Linked DNA regions of Homo sapiens: region 2 is linked to region 1. The links are contacts of gene promoters, found by promoter capture Hi-C in human tissues and cell types (Jung and others, 2019). All regions are on one chromosome and are shown on one strand. The core of a region is centred on a gene start or on the middle of the fragment in contact, and the rest is flanking DNA. Distances in the headings are between cores, read along the strand shown.

The links. The method cuts DNA at HindIII sites, captures the fragments that hold promoters and counts their contacts. A contact is called where the count stands out against the background at its distance.
Region 2: a contact is called between a fragment that was not itself captured here and the fragment with the promoter of TMEM244 in region 1, in 1 of the 25 tissues and cell types used here (pancreas).

Annotation. Positions count from the first base shown.
Region 1 is chr6:129,857,762-129,863,716 of GRCh38, forward strand. TMEM244 (transmembrane protein 244) reads right to left here and starts at 3,554. Exons shown (of 5, transcript NM_001010876.2): 1 at 3,395-3,554. The coding sequence starts at 3,427. It overlaps LOC105377999 (a long non-coding RNA gene), which reads left to right. Exons shown (of 8, transcript XR_942986.3): 2 at 1,569-1,664. RefSeq lists a silencer at 5,863-5,955. The HindIII fragment of the contact is 10,214 bases long and covers 904-5,955 here.
Region 2 is chr6:130,001,487-130,007,441 of GRCh38, forward strand. No RefSeq gene overlaps it. Among named protein-coding and RNA genes, the nearest start is that of L3MBTL3, 14 kb to the right of the region's middle. RefSeq lists an enhancer at 1-151. The HindIII fragment of the contact is 7,212 bases long and covers 1-5,855 here.

The sequences.
Region 1 (5,955 bases), core at 2,304-4,803:
TTTAGGATTGTAATGTGTGTGTGTATGTGTGGTTTTTTATATATATATATACACACATATATATATGTGTATATATATGTACATATATATGTATATATATATATCTGATCAGACAAAATCATTAGTTCTTATTTTATTCAGTATTTTAAATCAGGAGTGGTTCAGGAACGGTTGCCAATTTTTGTCAAAGGCAGTTTTAGCGTCTATGAAGATGAGTGAAGATGGTCATATGATTTTCTGCTTAGATATATGAACATCTAAATTATGTTAGTAGATTACCTAATATTGAACCATCCGTACATTTTTGGAATAAATGTCACTTGGTCATGATGTTTTATTTTTATGACGAGTTCTTGGGTTCTGTTTGCTAATATGTTTAGATTTTTCTGTATTCATAAGTGAGATTGATCTATAGTTTATTTTTTGTACTATATTTATATGGTTTAGGTGACAACATATTTCTTGTTTCATAAAACTTTCTTGTGGCTTTTCTTGTTTTTCTATACTCAAATGATTTAAGTAGCATTGGGAGTATATGATCTTTGAAGACTTAGGAGAATTCTTTTGTGAAATCTAGGCCTAGTCCTTCTGTAATAGCCTTCTCCATTTAGTCTATGGAAACTGGAAGCCCTTGTGTGATTTTGCAAAGCAGAATGTTCCCATTGCCTACAGTAGCTTCACTCTTCTTTACAGAGCAAGTAGCTATATTCTCTAGGTCTGGCTCATATATCATCTTCTCACTCCACCCCTCACTGCAGGACAGAATCAATCTCTATCTTATTTTAATTGCTTCCATAATATTATATTTGTCTTATAGATCTCATCAAATTTGTATTGTAGCATACCTACTTTTGGAGGTATACATTTCTTTCTCCAGTCTCTAAAAGACAGACACTGATTTGACCACATTTAATTCTTCAGCCCCCAAAATATTGGTCAGGCTTTCATAGGTATTCAATAAATATATTTTGAATAATAATCATGGAAGGAAGGAAAGAAATAATGGAAGACAAGACCACTATAGTAGGAACCATAGTCTTTTTTTTTTTTGAAACAGAGTCTTGCTCTGTCACCCAGGCTGGAGTACAGTGACACAATCTCAGCTCACTGTAACCTCTGCCTCCCGGCTTCAAGGAATTCTCTTGCCTCAGCCTCCCTGAGTAGCTGGGACTACAGGTGTGCACCACCACACCCAGCTAATTTTTGTATTTTTAGTAGAGATGGGGTTTCACCATGTTTACCAGGCTGGTATCGAACTCCTGACCTAAAGTGATCGTCCGGTTTGGCCTCCTAAAGTGCTGGGATTACAGGCATGAGCCACCACGCCTGGCCGGAACCATAGTCTATTAATAAAGTATGTGGACTCTAAGTCAGATCCACTGGAGTTTCTCCCCCAGTTCATCACTGACAAGTGTGTGACATTGGCTGGTTACTTTCTGAGTTTTGTTCTACTCATCTACAGGTAAAGTTTCATAAGGGATTTGTATTCTGAACATGTATACAATTCTTAACATTAAGTACTGTATGTTCCCAATAGATAATACTTTCTCTCTTACTTCTCCCCATAGGAAAGACTGCATTGTAGTTCTTTGGACAATTCCTGGAGAAATCATGAGATATGACTCTCTCACTTGTAGAATCACAGCAAAGGCTCCGTCCTACTGGTAAGTAGTTCCCTCTGAAATTGCCTGAATGAATGAAATTCTCCAGTTCAGGTGAACAACTCTGAGGATATGCAGGAATGTGTTGTGCTTCTGAGATTTTTACAACATTTGTTTTACAGAGGAAAGTTTACATTAGTTTAACATAGTTAGGAAACATGCCGTCTACTGGAGTAGAATACATTGTATTCTGAACAGTTTAGCAGTCCTCATACTTGGGCTTTCTTCCCAGTTCTTGTGCTATTTTCCCAGACAGCAAATTAATTAAATGGCCTTTGGCCATGACTCTTTCCCTTGAGTCAGCTTTTCTGTCATTTAAAGTGTACAGATAGGGGGGATTTAATTAGCCCAATGCCTGGCACATTGCATGCACTCAATAAATGTTTGTTGAGTATTCGAGTTATCTCTAGATGAAGGTCACTTTTGCTATTACTATTAATTTATAAGCATATCAGTAATTCTTGTGCTGATAATATTGACAGTGAACAAGCACTTAAAAGAAAAGTTAACTCATAACTTATAGGGATGTATCATGAGAATTCAGATAGTCAACAACCTATCTATTTTGAACATATTCACTATTCTTCTAATGTTCTAAGGCTCTAATTCTACACTTGAAGCTCAGATGATTCTAAGATAGTGAGGAACTGCAGCAACTATCTGGATATTTTCTCTGCAATGCGTGTGTGTGTGTGTGTGTGTGTGTGTGTGTGTGTGTGTGTGTGTCTGTCTGTCTGGTCTGTGTAAGCCCCGACTAAATATAGAGCCCCCATTCTTTGTGTAAGCTACTTAAGAGAAAGGATTTTATCTTCTAATTTTTATCTCTTCAGCAGAAGTTATTATTGCTAGTTCAATCCCAAATCTATACATAAATTACGAAGTTTAATAACCCCTTAAAAATAAGCTTTTTAAAAATATTTTTCCTGAAATAATGTTTTACTGACCTTGAAAATTTTTCTTAGCTGTTGTCATGCTCAACATTTCTCACTGATGACATATGTGGTGATGATGGTAGTGTAAAGAAAAAGCTTGAGGAAATACACACGGTGCTGATATTTTACTAAAATGAATGTAGCACTCACTCATAATTGTAATTTAATTTTTAAGTAAAAATCTGATTTTCCACTATCATTCCCTTAAGTCTGGCTCATTATAGGCCTAAAGCCTGTATGAATTTACACAGCTGCTTTGAGGCTTTGCATATTTCCTTGTTTTCGATTGTTTGATTTTTTTTTAAAGGGGTATTTTTGCACTGAAGTAAAACACAACTATTAACACTAGCCTCGGGGGAAAAAGAAACTAACAAACCTACAGCTTGAAATGTTTCAACACTTTGCATTTAAAATTTTGCGCACCCTTTAGAAGTTACAAAAATAAAAGCCACTCCCTGCAAAAAAAAAAAAGAAAAAAAGATTGAGAACAAACTGTCATGATTTCAGAAAACGATAGCAGACGTGCAGGTGCTAATACCAGAGAGCTTACCTCCGAATAAAATGGTGCCTTCTAAACAGCGACTATTTACATGTTTTAGAATCCTTTCTTGGGCATGGGTGCCTTTATATTGCCCTATTACCACAAGATGCAAGCCGTGCAGCAGAATGTTTTCTGTATGGTACCCAGCCAAAAGTGAAACAAGTTGCCCACTGACAGAGAGGCCATTTATAGAACATATTCATTTACACCAGTGCTAGGCAGCAACTGAAAGGCAATGCAAAGAAGTAATTTCTCTTTACCTTGCTTGGAGCAACTCTGACCTGGAGAGCCATGTACACATCCTACGTCAAGGAGGTGATGAAAGCCCCACTCCTTATAGCGATGACATCTGGAAGAAGACACAATTGTCACCGTGAGCTTTTCAATTACTCCTGGAGACTAAGTGTGAGACGCAGTAGTGCAGGATGATTGGATTACGCAAAACGAGACAGATGCCATCTGTGAGCCACGCGTAAGCTGCTAAGTGCCAAAATGAACATCCTTATTAAACGATGGAGTTCTCATACCATTTGTAGTTTGGTCAGATTTGAAAGATGAGTTGATTGTTTTTAGATAGTGCGGCAAATAGGCAGGGACTTGGAATCCTCTCTGGCTGTATGAGTAATTACTGTCTCATACTTAAATTAGAAACATGGGTTTTCAGTTAGGTCTTGAGATTGTTTCCAAAGGATGCTGCTGCATTCATGTTGAAGCGTGGCCTGTCCTCTCTGTTTCACTCACAAGGGCCACAGAGTTCTGAGAAAGAAATCATCAGTTCCTTTCACATCATGGCAAAGAAATGTAAAACTTATGACTTTTTGTTAGGAAACAAAAGGGTTCCCATACTCTAAAATAATGGCCACAATATTGTGGGTAGAATGTTTTCAAGAACTGCCAGGAGGCAGTATTGGAGCTCTGTCTCTCTGCGTCCTGAGGCTCCAGAACCAATCCTTCATTTACAATTCATTCTCCCATCTTTTTACTGGCACCAACTCTATTATTATTTTTATTTTAATTTTTAATTGCTGTGATTACATAGTAATATAGTAATATACCCCATAGAGTTTATGGGGTACATGATATATTTTGATATAGGCATCTAATATGTAATGATCACATCAAGGTAAGTGGGATTTCCATCACCTCAAGCATTTATTCTTTGTGTTACAAGCAATCCAATTATACCCTTTTAGTTATTTTTAAATGTACAATTAAATTATTATTGACTATAGTCACTCTGTTGTGCTATCAAATACTAGATCTTATACATTCTCTCTCTTTTTTGTATGCATTAACCATCCCCACACTCCCCCTTTTCTCCCACTACCCTTCCCAGCTTCTGGTAACCATTCTTTTACTTTCCATCTCAATGAGTTCAATTGTTTCCATTTTTAGTTCCCACAAATAAGTAGGAACATATGAAGTTTGTCTTTCTGTGCCTGGTTTATTTCACTTAACATAAGGACCTCCAGTTCCATCCATATTGTTGCAAATGACAGGATTTCATTCTTTCCTTTGGCTGAATTCTATTCTGTACCTGTACCACATTTCTTTATCCACTTGTCTGTTGATGGACATTTAGGTTGTTTCTTAATCTTGGATATTGTGAAACATGCTGCAATATACATGGGCATGCAGATACCTCTCCGATAGACTGATTTCCATTCTTTGGGGTATATGCTCAGCAGTGGGATTGCTGGATCATATGGCAGTCCTATTTTTCTCTTTTGAGGAACCTCCAAACTGTTCTCCATAGTGGCTGTACTAATTTACATTCCCACCAGCAGTGTATGAGGGTGTCCTTTTCTTCACATCCTCACCAGCATTTGTTATTGCCTGTTTTGGGATAAAAGCCATTTTAACTGGGGTGAAGTCATATCTCTTTGTAGTTTTGATTTGCCTTTCTCTGATGATCGATGATGTTGAGCACTTCTCACATACCAGTTTGCCATTTGTATGTCTTGTTCTGAGAAATGTCTATTCAGATATTTTGATCATTTTTAAATCATATTATTAGATTTTTTCCTCTACAGTTGTTTGAGCTCCTTATATATTCTGGTTGTTAGCCCCTTGTCAGATGGGTAGTGTTTGAGTATTTTTTTTCCCATTCTGCGGGTTGGTGTCTTCACTTTGTTGATTGATTGCTTTGCTGTGGCACCAACTTTAGATGGGAACTTAGCTGTGCCCTGTAATCCTTTTTCCATTACAGCATCTTGTTAACCGCTATAAAGAGCACATTCTGCAATATCTACCTGCATACCAAAAGCAAAGGTGAAAAGAGTGCCTTCAGCAAGTCCAGGCCTTGATAGTTTTCATCTGAATATGTTATTGAATTTGACATTCATAATGCATATTAATAACACTGTCAATGCTCTTTTATTAATATACCTTAGATAAATCTTTTAATGTGTGGTTGCCCTGTTCTCTGCTTATATTGTGAGTTCTTGCAGAAAAAGACTTTTCTGCCTGCTGGTAACATTGTAACAGCTCCCAGTGTTGTCTTCAGATTTCAGCACACGGTGGACCCTCAGTAAATGCTGATTGTCCAAATCCCATGCCCTGCCCTATTTGTAACAGTGATGACCCAGAATTTCTCCTTAAAGAGGGCAGGCGGAGGCCAGGTGTGGTGGCTCATGCCTGTAATCCTCGCACTTTGGGAGTCAGAGGCAGACGGATCACAAGGTCAGGATTTCGAGACCAGCCTGGCCAACATAGTGAAACCCCGTCTTTACTAAAAATACAAAAAATTAGCTGGGCATGGTGGCGGGCACCTGTAATCCCAGCTACTCAGGAGGCTTAGGCAGGAGAATCGTTTAAACCA
Region 2 (5,955 bases), core at 1,000-3,499, 140 kb after region 1:
AGGAGCACCATGTTTACTTGAAAGAATGACAAGCAAACCACGGTTAGTCAGAGACTGTTTGGCAAATATTTTTTCAAAAATGAATAAAATAAGCCTGTTACTTGGAAGAAAGAAATGAATGATAATATGAATTGCAAATGATAAAATTTGAACTTTTAAGTAAAAATTAGAATTTTAGAAAGCTTTTATCTACCACTTTGAGCTCAACAGCTCTCAATACCTAAAAACTTTTCTGTCGTAATTGATAGTGATAAAACATATGCAATTTTTTGAAATTGTAGAATAAAATGTGTTAATATTTGGAAGATATATAATTCAGTGGATCAGTATTTTTCCAGATCTTTAAAAAATCATGCATAGGTAAAAGAACCACTCAAAATGGAAGGGAACAATATATTTTAATGTAACAGAGTATGAATAAGTATTTGATAATATATCAGATACTATAACCTTTGAGAAACTACTAGTTGTCAAGTTTTGTGTAATATCAAAGAATATCCACAATTATCTGAAAAGGCTCTAAAAATACTTCTTCGTTTCCTAGCCTCATATCTGCATGAATATTTCTTTGTATACTTCAACCAGGACAACATAGCACAATAAATTGAATGCAAAGGCAGGTATAAGTATCCAGATGTATTCTATTAGGGTAGACCTTCAAGTGATTTGCAAAAATATAACAATATACCACTCAACTTTTTTTTTATTTTGGAAAACCCAGTTATTTTTTATAAAAATATGTTATTTGTGTTAACATGTAATAAGTTTATCATTGCCATTCTGAAATAAATATTTAAATTTTTTCTCAGTTTTAATGTCTTTTTTTTTTTTTTTTGAGATAGGGTCTCACTCTGTTGCCCAGGCTGAAGTGCGGTGGCATGACCACAGCTCACTGCAGCCTCAACCTCCTGGGTTCAAGCAGTCCTTTCACCTCAGCCTCCTCAGTAGCTGCGACCATAGGCACATGCCACCATGCCTGGCTAATTTTTAAAAAATTATTTCTAGAGACAGAGTCTCCCTATGTTGCCCAGGCTGGTCTCAAAGTCCTGGGCTCAAATGATGCCCCTGCTTTGGCTTCCCAAAGTACTAGGATTACAGGATTTTAACTTCTTATGTGGTAAACATTGGTCGATATAACCCACGTAACAAAAGTTATTTGAATTCCCTATTAGGGTGTAAACTGGTCCTGAGACCAACAACCATTTGTCTATGCGTATATTAACTTTCTTCATATCTATGCTACATCCATATTATTTATGTGTATATATGTGTGTGTGTGTATATATATATATAATTTTTTTTTTTTACGTAGAGTCTCGCTCTGTCACCCAGGCTGGAGTGCAGTGGTGTGATCTCAGCTCACTGCAACCTCCACCTCCAGGGTACAAGTGATTCTCCTGCCTCAGTCTCCCAAGTAGCTGGGATTACAGGTGTGCACCACCACACCTGGCTAATTGTTGTAGTTTTAGTAGAGATGGGGTTTCTGCCATGTTGGCCAGGCTCGTCTCAAACTCCTGACCTCAAGCCATCCGCCCATCTTGGCCTCCCAAAGTGCTGGGATTACAGGCATGAGCCACCGCACCAGGCCCATATCCTTTATGTATTCTTTTCTTATACAAAACACATTGCATTTACTCTTGCTCCACCTTGCCTTCCTAACTTAACAACACGTCTTCAGAATTGACCCATATCAAGACATATAGAGATTCCTTATTCTTTTTATGGTTACATAAATCTCTTTGCAAGAAATTATGTAATTATTTATCTCTTTGCAAGAATTTATGTAATTTTTATGCCAATGTCATGCTGATGATTTGTTAAAATTATTTTGTTTATACAGACACTGCCACATTGAATAACTTTGTATCCATATCATGTCAAATGTGTGGTAAGATCTGTAGGACAAAAGTAGAAATGCTAGTCAAAGATTAAATGCATATGTAATTTCGATATATGTTGTACAATGTATAAGCTTATACTTTTTTTAAGAAAGTAAGGTATGTATTACAGCCCTATACAAATAGGCTACATCAGTGTCATAATCTGTGTTCACTTGAATACAGCAGAGTTGAGTGCTGAGTGTGTATACACATACGCAGTTTACATGCTTAGAATCAAAAGTTAATGTTAACTGATTAAAACTTGAAAATATTGAAATGAAAATTAAGCTGGAAAGTCCATTGTAATAGATAAAATGTGTTGTTGATTATTCTATATCAGTGTGATTTGGGAGAAGTCATAAGTTTTTGGTATTTGTCTGGTACATGGTTGAAACAATTTGACAACTTTTGTTGGAAGGCCTGAAGCAGCTGGCACTAACTGCACTAATGAACAGGAGGTCCCAGCATTTTCAAATCCCGAGTTCACAGTGACCATCATTACAGAGGCAAGACTTCAGAGCCAGTGGAGATGGATTCCAGGCAAAGACTGTTAAGGAAAAGCAAAACAGATTCTTGCGTTCTTGCTTAGACGCTGCAGGGAAGTGCTTGTAAGCTCATAAATATGGGATCATTAAGCATCTTTGTGTGCAGGGATGAATTTTTAAAAGAATGTTAACATTTTCAAACAATTTTTAAAATGATAGTCCTCAATTCCCCTCTTCCTGCTCCCAGCGAAACCTCACAAGTTTTTTTGGTATTTGTCAATCTTTTGGCTCATTGCAGAGTATCCCATAGCTCCTATTCTATCTTCACATATCAACGTACGTGCCATCTCCTCCGGAGTACCTCACTTGGTTCCTGATATGCAACAACCTTTTTTTGCTTCATGTTCCCATAGGACTCTGTAACTTATCTACTATAGGTTATATAATGATGTCTTATAACTGTTTATTGACAATATTTCCACTACATTTTACATCCTAAAGAGAATGATGCTATGTGTCTTATTTAATGCTTTATTCTCAGAACCTACTTTAGTGCCTGACATATAGTAGGTACTCAATAAATATTTGCTGAATTAATAAAAAATAGGAGGACAATTTTGGCTAGCATGTGGGCTCTAAGAATCTCAATAATTTTAATTTAAAAATCCCAAATCTTGGCCGGGTGTGGTTTGCTCACACCTGTAATCCCACTTTGGGAGGCTGAGGTGGGTGAATCACGAGGTCAGGAGTTAGAGACCAGCCTGGCCAACATAGTGAAACCCCGTCTGTACTAAAAATACAAAAATTAGCCAGGTGTGATGGCACTCACCTGTAGTCCCAGCTACTTGGGAGGCTGAGGTGGGAGAATTGCTTAAACCTGGGAAGCGGAGGTTGCAGTGAACCAAGACCACACCATTGCACTCCAGCCTGGGTGACAGAATGAGACTCCGTCTCAAAAAGGAAAAAAAAAATCCCAAATCTCCTAGCAACTACTTTAAGTACCTCTGTCTTCACATATTTGTTTTATTGTTTCATATACAATTTCTAGTAATACTAGTACACATAGTATTTCTGGTGTAGATATACTATGGTTTGATAAAGTGTACAATGTTATTTTCTCCTCTGTTTTCTCTACCTTCTCCCATGACCCTGATGTTATTTGCCTTATTGGCCATCAATGGCACCTTTGGCCTAACAGAAATAATGAATTCTCCAAGAAGCAATAGGATTAATCACATAAGAAAAGTAGTGATCAGTAAACTGGTTTATACACGCTGTAGCCCAGTGATGGTACTATTGGTACTATTAAGGTACTATTTTCTTTTTTTTTTTGTTTGACAGAGTCTCACTTTTTTGCCCAGGCTGGAGTACAGGAGTGCAGTGGTGTGATCCTGGCTTACTGCAACCTCCACCTCCTGGGTTCAAGTGATCCTCCCACCTCCGCTTCCCAAGTAGCTGGTATTACAGGGCACACACCACCATACCTGGCTAATTTTTGTATTTTTAGTAGAGATGGGATTTACAGTTTGAACAAAATGTATTTCTTTTCCTTGGTTTCCAAACTTTCTTAGGCCAACCAAAGAAAATGGAATTTGAAGGTGTGGGTAATTTATCACCATCTCTTATTTATAAAAAAGCTTATGTGTTAGCTCATAATGAGCAGGAAAAAGTGAGAGCAGCAGTTGCCCAACATTTTTGGTACCAGGGACCAGTCTCGCGGAAGACAGTTTTCTACAGACTGTGGGGCAGGAGGGCAGTGGGGGAGGGTTTTGGGATGGTCCAAGTGCATTACATTTACTGTGCACTTCATGTCTATTATCATTACACTGTAATATGTAATGAAATAATTATACAACTCACCATAATGTAGAATCAGGGGTGCTCTGAGCTTGTTTTCCTGCAACTAGATGGTCCCATCTGGGGGTGATGGGAGACAGTGACAGATCATCAGGCATTAGATTCTCATAAGAAGCATACAACCTAGAACCCTCACATGTGCAGTTCACAATAGGGTCCATGCTTTTATGAGAATCCAGTGCCACTGCTGATCTGACAGGAGGGGGATCTCAGGCAGTAATATGAACAATGGCGGTGGCTGTAAATGCAGATGAGCTTTGCTGGCTCACTCGCCTGCTGCTCACCTCCTGCTGGGCACCGGTTCCTAACAGGCTACATACTGGGGGTTGGGGACCCCAACACTAAAAATTAGAGCATCAGGAAACTTCTTCTGTGTTCCCTGGCAACTCCTCACTTTTCTGTAAAGCAGAATCCTATTCACTTCCTTTGAGAAGACTTCGTCTCTCACCCTCTCATTTTGGTAAGATTTTATTATAGCCTCTTCTGCGAACTCCTTTACTCTTTTACCATTTATGATCCTCCCTTTGGGATTGATCTTGTGTCTTCTAGAAAATGCACTTATTCAGGGACAACCTTGGGTTTTCTCACGCCATCCAGGAGGGCTCCAAACCTCTGAGGAGACCTGGCTGACACCTAGATTGCAACTTTGTGAGGCCCTGAGCAGAGGGCCCAGCTTAGCTATGCCCAGAGCCCGGACCCGTAGAAGCTGTAAGATCATAAATGTGCATTAAGTAGCTACCTTTGTGGTAATTTGCTGCATAGTGATAGAAAACTATATACTGCCTTATTGGGAAGATGTATAGTTTATAAGAAACTGATTCTAGCTAATGTTAGATAGAGAAAAAAAAAGCAAAATTAGACATGTCACGGAATTGAAGGAAAAGCTAAACCATCAGGCCTTAGGGATAATAGGCACAAGGGTGACCGTGAGGGTATCACTGAGGAATTTTGAGGAGTGAGCTTTGAAATAATCTGCCTACATCCACCCTTGTTCCTTATCCCACGGATAAGATTTTTCCTGACAGACTCTAACTGGCCTCATTCTCATCACCTGCCCATTCCTTGATGTCGGGAAGCTTGAGAATGGACAGACCCCAAGACCATGTGGAAGGAGAAAGGAAGTCTCCTAAAGGGAAAGTGTGATGTTCTTAAGGAAAACAAAGGAGAGGGATTTGAGACAGGCCCACACAAAAGAAAGCCACTTTGCTACTGCATAGGGTTGTCAAGAAAAAACATGAGATAATGCATATAAAATGCTTCGCATGGTTCTTGGCACACAGTAGTCACTCAGTACAGTTTAACTATAATTATTAAGCATCAGGGGCCTATGCCTCATCTAGAAAGCAAAAGAAAGAACTCTGTTCTTGAAAATGAAAAGAAAAATCCCAATTTGATAAGGGGAAAAATCCCTGACACTCAAAAGGACAGGCTTAAATGTCTGTTGCTACCTAGATGATTTATAATCAAAGGGTTATCAGAGGTTAGGAAGGTATAGATTTCAAAGTGCTATTTGTGCTGATTATTGCTATGTACTCAAAGTCAAACCAGCTATGAGATATAATCCTCCAAATTCCAGTGGGCCACAGACAGAAGCCAACTATTGGTGGCTGTTTCTCTTCACACAAAACTCTTAATGGTTGGCTCACAGCTCTGATTGTAAGTGGGCTGGATGGTACCTAAGCCCACCCATCCATCCATGCTTAAATCATGGCTTTAAATTTGAAATTTTGGAA